2 separate regions of the Homo sapiens genome follow, and region 2 is linked to region 1. Evidence: promoter capture Hi-C in 16 types of primary human blood cells and fetal thymus (Javierre and others, 2016). All regions are on one chromosome and are shown on one strand. Each heading gives the region's core, a stretch centred on a gene start or on the middle of the fragment in contact. The rest is flanking DNA. Distances are from core to core; before and after follow the strand shown.

Region 1 (3,421 bases), core at 313-2,812:
GAACAAAGCACAGACGAGTAATTTAAATTACTTAAGATTAACAGTAAATGTTGAAGCCAAGTTACAAACCCAGAGCCCTTTATTTTCTATCAGAAATTCTCCGGTATGCAGAAACTTACAGTATCTAAGTATTCAAAAACATCTTCACAGTATTCAAGCATAAACAGAAAATCCAATTTACAGTCCCCACATCTTACCATTTTGCGAAGTTTAACCACCCGGGTACCGCCGTTCTTGTCACCACCAACTGGTTTTGTAACAGTTGCGAGAACCTTCTCCTTCTTTTTCTTTTCAACCTACAAGGACACAAATGCATCAACAGTAAGAGAATGCCAATTAAGGTTAAGACATAATGGTCCGTGGTCCTCTTCCCTTACCTTGGATTTAGCGGCTGAGTACTTCCTCTTGTACATGGCCTTTCTGGAATACATGGCAGATCGGGAATACCTGCCAATTCCTCTGACAAGGACAGGGTTGCGGCTGCAATGGGGCTTCCCCTTCTTGGGCTTTTTAGCTTTGAGGTTACCCTTTTTCACCTTGCCACCAGCATCAACCTTCTTGGCTTCGGGTTTCTTCTCTTTAGTATCTGGCTTCTCAACTTTTTCACCCGCCATCTAAAAATATTTTTTTGTAGATAAAAAAAGGCATTTCACCAGTCATCTCTCTAACAAGACAATAATGAACCTGTACATGAATGGGCTGGGCTCCCCAGACTACAATCCCTCCCCCGGTAAGATACAGGCCTTCCTCTCAAACTCTACCCATTCTACTCCAACCTTCACTATGACTCATTTGGGGTTTGTCTCCCCAATACACTATAAACTTTTTTTTTGAGAATTTGAAACTACCTCACACCTATTAGGTTTTTTGCCAAATACTGAGCGGTCAGAAGTCCGTACAACCATTATTTTTTATTACTGTTTTGCGAATTAGAAAACTTAGATGCAGAATGTGTCCACAGGTTAGAAGCACCAAGACCAGAACTTGAAATCCCTTACTTTCAGTACCTTTCGTCTTAACCCTTAAGACCAGTGTCTCTTTTCAAGAAACTCGATTTAGGAATTGCGGACACAAACGGAATCAGCCCAAATTGAGCCAGAGAAAAAGATCGCAAAGACCAAGAGGCGACTTCCGGTCGGGGACGCTGGGAGACGCGAAACCTTTTGGCTTCAGTGCGGAACCCCAACGTGGCTGCGACAGGCTCAGTGTCATCCTCTGGAACCCAGGACCAGGAACACAGTGCACGCGCCGTCTCCCCGCTTCCTCTAACACCCACCAGTCTGCTACGGGTCCCCGAAAGGGCCTCGTTCCCCCAGCCCAAGAGAGTGGCGAAGAACCGGAGGGAGCCACTACGGCATTCTACCTCACCCTCTTTGTGCCCTGCCGCAAACCCAAACAACAAAAATGAAGCGTCTGGAAGGCCTCTCAGTTAGCCTTGGACATGTCCGACCCCTGTAGGTGTCGACTGGATGCCCTCCAGGTTCGGATGGCGAAGGATTGGGAGTCCTGAACTCAAGTCTTGCAGACAGGCCCGCGATTCTTACCTTGCAAGATGGGAAAGAGAATTAAGGTCCCGGCTTCCGGTCTATAAGCAATCATGGGAAGTGCGAGTCTCACTTCCTTCCGGATCTGGGGCATCATGGGGAATGTAGTATTTCCCCGTTAAGAAAAAAGTAGTAAATCCTAGGCCGGGTGCGGTGGCTCACGCCTGTAATCCCAGCCCTTTGGGAGGCCGAGGCAGGAGGATCCTCTGAGGTTGGCAGTTCGAGACCAGCCTGGCCAACATGGTGAAATCCCGTCTCTACTAAAAATACAAAAGGTAGCCGGGCGTGGGTGGTGCGTGTCTGTAATGACAGCCAGTCGAGGCGCGGAGGCAGGAGAATCACTTGAATCTGGAGGTGGAGATTGCAGTGAGCCAAGATCGCGACACTGCGCTCTAGGCAACAGAGCAAGATTCTCAAAAAAGAAAAAAAAAAAAAAAAGGGCCGGACACGGTGGCTCACGCCTGTAATCCCAGCACTCCAAAGATCGTGCCACTGCGTGCCACCGCACTCCAGCCTGGGAAATAGAGCCAGACTCAGTCTCAAAACAATAACAACAACAAAAAAAAGAAAAAAAGAAAAAAAATTAGCCGAGTGTGGTTGTTAGTGCCTGTAGTCCCAGCTATTCGGGAGGCTAAGGCGGGAGGATCACTTGAGTCTTGGAGGTCTGGGCTGCAGTGCAGTGAACTCTAATCTTGTCACTTGAGATTAGGTCAGTGGTCCCCTCTTCCCTTACCTTGGATTTAGCGGCTGACTACTTCCTCTTGTACATGGCCTTTCTCATTCCCGTCCTCCGGCCTGGCCTACAGAATGAGACTCTGTCTTAAAAAAAGTAAAAAAAAATTAAAGTGAGGATAACAATAGTAACTTACTTCATAAGGATGTTGGGAACATTAAATAATATATACAACAGTACTGAGAAGCATATTTGATTATTTGATGGATGGTAAATGCTACATAAGTGTTAGCTCTTTTTTTTTTTTTTTTTTTTTTTTTTTTTTTTTTTTTGAGATGGAGTCTCGCTCTGTCACCCAGGCTGGAGTGTGGTGGCACGATCTTGGCTCACGGCAACCTCTGCCTCCTGGGTTCAAGTGATTCTCCTGCCTCAGCCTCCCAAGTAGCAGGGATTACAGGCGCACACCACCATGCCCAGCTAATTTTTTGTATTTTTAGTAGAGACAGAGTTTCACCATGATGGCCAAGCTGGTTTTGAACTCCTGACCTCAAGTAATCCACCCGCCTCAGCCTCCCAAAGTGCTAGGATTACAGGCGTGAGCCACCGCACCTGGCGAACTGTTAGCTCTTGTTATTGTCACCATCACCACTACAATCATCTGATCATCAACATCCTAGTTGTTGTCAAGTATTCTGCTAAAGTTTATGCATGGGAGATAATAGGCAATATTGCATACAATGTGCCTTGCTTTATTTCATTTAATTCTCCCAACAACCTGTGAATGATACTATTATGAGGAAACTGAGTCTCAAGGACATTAAGTAACTTGCTCACAGCATAGATCTGATTCCAAAGATTGCACTCTTAACCATTAGGCTGCAAGATTAAAGAGATGATTAATGAAGATGCATGAGAGTTTTGCTCATGTTAGAATTAAAAATAAGAATATTTATTATCTTTTACAAAATACACAACACAGTATATGTGATAGTTCTTTACTGCTTCAAAGCCCTTAAGCCAACATGTACACATTTGTAATACCTTCTAGCTTGCGTTTTCCATTTTCCTCCATTCGTTTCTTTCTGGTTGCTAGAGCTTTTCACCTTGATTTTTTCAGATCGAAACCACCTGCTTCATGGCTGTGTCTCTGGGAATCATTTAGCCTTTTTCTGGTTCTGATTCACTGAGGATACAAATACAATGA
Region 2 (3,421 bases), core at 497-2,996, 540 kb before region 1:
TTCTAAGTGATAAAGTTTTTATTGTAATTAGCTTGTACCTAGTATGGTCAGTTTTTGGAGAGAAAATGTTGGTATCCCCTACCTATTGATACATTTCCTCTGTTCTCTTTAAGGTACGTCTGCACATGATGTGTGCCACACACCCAAACATAGTTCAGATTATTGAAGTGTTTGCTAACAGTGTCCAGTTTCCCCATGAGTCCAGCCCTAGGTAAGACTACACAGTGTCATCATCAAATGCCCACATGTAGGCCAATGTGTAGTGGAGCTGTCCTCTCTTTTATGTGCTCCCTCCCCTTCCCTCTCCTTCTTCCTCCTACCCTCGCTTCCTCTGCCCTTCCTTCTCCCCCTCCATCTCCCTTTTTGTAATTTGGAAAATGTCAAGCATTTGTAAAAGCAGACAGAATTATGTAATGAATCCTCAAGTTCTCATGATCCATCCTCAACAGTAATCCTCTTGTGGCCAGTCTAATTTCATCTATGCCCCTACCACTCTTCACATCCCCTGATGATTCTGATTACTTTCTCATTTCAAGAAAGCATTTAATGTAGAATTTAAACAGATTCTATTTCAAATCAGTGAAAGGGGCCCAAATATTATTCTAGGCAGAGTCTTAGAGGCTGATAAAACAAAAAGCCTTTATTATTGCTTAGTCTAACTTTCCTTTTAAAGAAAGAAATCAACATTATTCTTTTAGTTACCAAATGTTTGGCAAGCATATTGGGTGGCATTCTAAGTCTCTTTGTTAAAATTCAAAATTAAATAAGGTATGGTTTTTTTGGGGAAGACTGAGATGTAAACCCATCATCATAGCAGTGCAATAGGCACTAAGGACAGGCATCCCTAAAATATTCTAAGCTTACAAAGGAGAGGAGCTGCTAACTATAGTCTGGGAGGAGAGGTGTCTCACAAAGGCTGTGTGGAAGCTAGGACTTGAAGGAAGGGTAGGAATTTTCCAGATGGAAAAAGAAGATAGAATTTTAAAAACAAATGGGAAATCAAACAAATGGGAAAAAAACGCTTATTTTTCACAACTGTGCTCTGTTGGTGAAAGCATTTGGATGGAAGCTGGAAGCATATATGAAAGAATGGTAGCCAAAAATCACATTAAAATTTTTTTTTTCAGAACATGAGAATTTTTGCTCTTAGTAACTGTGTTACCCTGGACTTAGGAAGTTGTTACACACTTTGTAGATGCAGTATCTTTAGGTCAGCTTCTTAATGTTTCAGGGTTTTTTGTTTCTTTTTCTTTTTTTTTTTTTTAACTTAACAAAATCAAATGCTTTCAAACAGGGCCCGACTCTTAATTGTAATGGAGATGATGGAAGGGGGAGAGCTATTTCACAGAATCAGCCAGCACCGGCACTTTACAGAGAAGCAAGCCAGCCAAGTAACAAAGCAGGCAAGTTAACCCCAGGTACCAATCAAACTGCCACCAAAGTTGGTTAACAAGCACAATTTCATTGGGGGGAAGAAAAGAAAACTTAAAGAAAAGCTCTATTTGACTTCTCATTGCCTGCTTTGTTATGTAATCAGAAAAGATGTTTTGACAGGAGAAATGTGACCCCTTTTATACTTGGGGGTGGGGGTACTGTGTTCTTAATTGGTTGTCAACTGTTTCCTGAGGCTGCTGTGAGATTTCAATAAACTCTGGAAGGAAGGCATCTTAACTGCTTTGTAGACTGCAGTTATCTTTAGGCATGTAGCTACCAAGTACTGTTATTGGACTTTGCAATAAAATGCTGCTGATACCACCTGAAAGATTGTATGGTATAAAAATGTATTTTAAGAGAATTGTACATAAGATGCTTCCTGCATGTGAGCCACCTTTCTGTGATTTCTTCAGATTTAATAATATCCTAAGATCTTTGTAATTCTGAATTATTCCTGGTTATATTCTATGTTGACATCACATTTTATTGCTGTAGAAATGATTTATGTCACAAACAATACTAGGAATCCAGCTGATAATCACTTCTTGCAGAGGTGAAAAGCTAAACCCTCAAGGCTTATCTTCATACCAGGCAAGCAAAGCAAAGAGAATTAGGAAGCACAGCCCAATTGCTTCTTAATAAAAAGTTCTTCCAAGTTTCCCATGAACCTTAAGCAATTTTGGATGCCTCCTTTCTGGTAGGGAGGAACTGATACTTGGATTGCTGAGAAAATGCCATATGGAGAGTTAAAGAACAAGTAAAATCTGTTCTTTCTGTTTGATTTTTAAAATTATACCTTTAATTTTTTCAAATATTAGGATTAAAGGATGAGCTCTGATAATCTTCTATAAAATAAAACCCCTTCAAATCCACATAAACAGGCAACATTTTCAACAAGCATGATGAGCAAAATGAGTTTCCAGTATGAATTGGAAAAACCCAGTCAGCTGATTTCTTGACCCTCAGCTCCCTGGAGAGTGCCATTCTTGTCTGAGCCCTGCTGTGGGAACTGCGCCTGCTGACCATTGCTCAGCTTAGGTGTTTCTTCTGCAGTGTCTGTCATACCTCAGATGAATGAAAGTGGGAGCATTTCATTTTTCCCATTTCTTACAGGATTTACCCATCAGTTTATTCTGACAAAGAATTGCTGTACCATCATATTTTTCTTTCTGTCTGACAAAATACAAGTTGCAGTTAAACTAAGCTTAATCCATTCTGTTTCTTGGTATTCCAAGTTTTTCTTAATTTCTGCTTTAAAATTGAAAGTGAACGCAGTCTTAATGAAGGCTTGTTTTTTGACATCCTGAGTTCTCTACGCCAGGTGTATTAAAGAGTGGTCTTTTCTAAGAAGCGACTGTTTCATTGTGTCTTTTTTCAGATAGCTTTGGCTCTGCGGCACTGTCACTTGTTAAACATTGCGCACAGAGACCTCAAGCCTGAAAATCTGCTTTTTAAGGATAACTCTTTGGTGAGAAGACTGTTTTTCTGCATTTTAGTGCTGCAACTCTTAACATAGTTCAGGAGTGGGTGTGTTTGGAGCGCTCTGAATTCATGGTGAAAAAGCTTTAAGCCAAAGTGCTTCAAACAGCTTATTTCTTCAACTCGTTCCCTTGCTAGAGGCTCAGAGAAGCTGTACTACTGTACTCCCGGCATTGATAATTTTGGATGATACTGATATGTATTTGTGGGACTTAATGATTTTGGATATTATTTGGAGGACCTTTGGGAAGGGGCAGGAATCTGTATGCTGTTATATATTATCTCGTTTCATTTGCTGTTTTCCCTTTCAGCTCTGTCCCCTGCCCCATGTCTCACCAGATAAGTTGCTCTGTCTATCATGAAGCTTATGGCAGATATTAAAAGTGAAGTAGCATCCCAGATTGATGAGAGGTGATGGGCTTATAGAGTGAAGGGTCCCTAGGCCAAGACCTTGACGTTAGTGCTGCCCTTACAAGTTCTAAAGCAAAAATAGCTGTGTGAGTGGGTA

The links. The method cuts DNA at HindIII sites, captures the fragments that hold promoters and counts their contacts. A CHiCAGO score of 5 or more calls a contact.
Region 2: a fragment that was not itself captured here is called in contact with the fragment with the promoter of RPL6 in region 1 in 2 of 17 cell types (erythroblasts and total CD8 T cells); the score reaches 5.7 in erythroblasts.

Annotation. Positions count from the first base shown.
Region 1 is chr12:112,408,043-112,411,463 of GRCh38, forward strand. It overlaps RPL6 (ribosomal protein L6), which reads right to left and starts at 1,563. Exons shown (of 7, transcript NM_000970.6): 1 at 1,545-1,563; 2 at 378-614; 3 at 198-296. The coding sequence starts at 614. RefSeq lists an enhancer at 1,194-1,373. The HindIII fragment of the contact is 30,731 bases long and covers 1-3,421 here.
Region 2 is chr12:111,867,459-111,870,879 of GRCh38, forward strand. MAPKAPK5 (MAPK activated protein kinase 5) reads left to right here. Exons shown (of 14, transcript NM_003668.4): 4 at 114-211; 5 at 1,295-1,403; 6 at 2,813-2,902. Among named protein-coding and RNA genes, the nearest start is that of MAPKAPK5-AS1, 26 kb to the left of the region's middle. The HindIII fragment of the contact is 1,779 bases long and covers 858-2,636 here.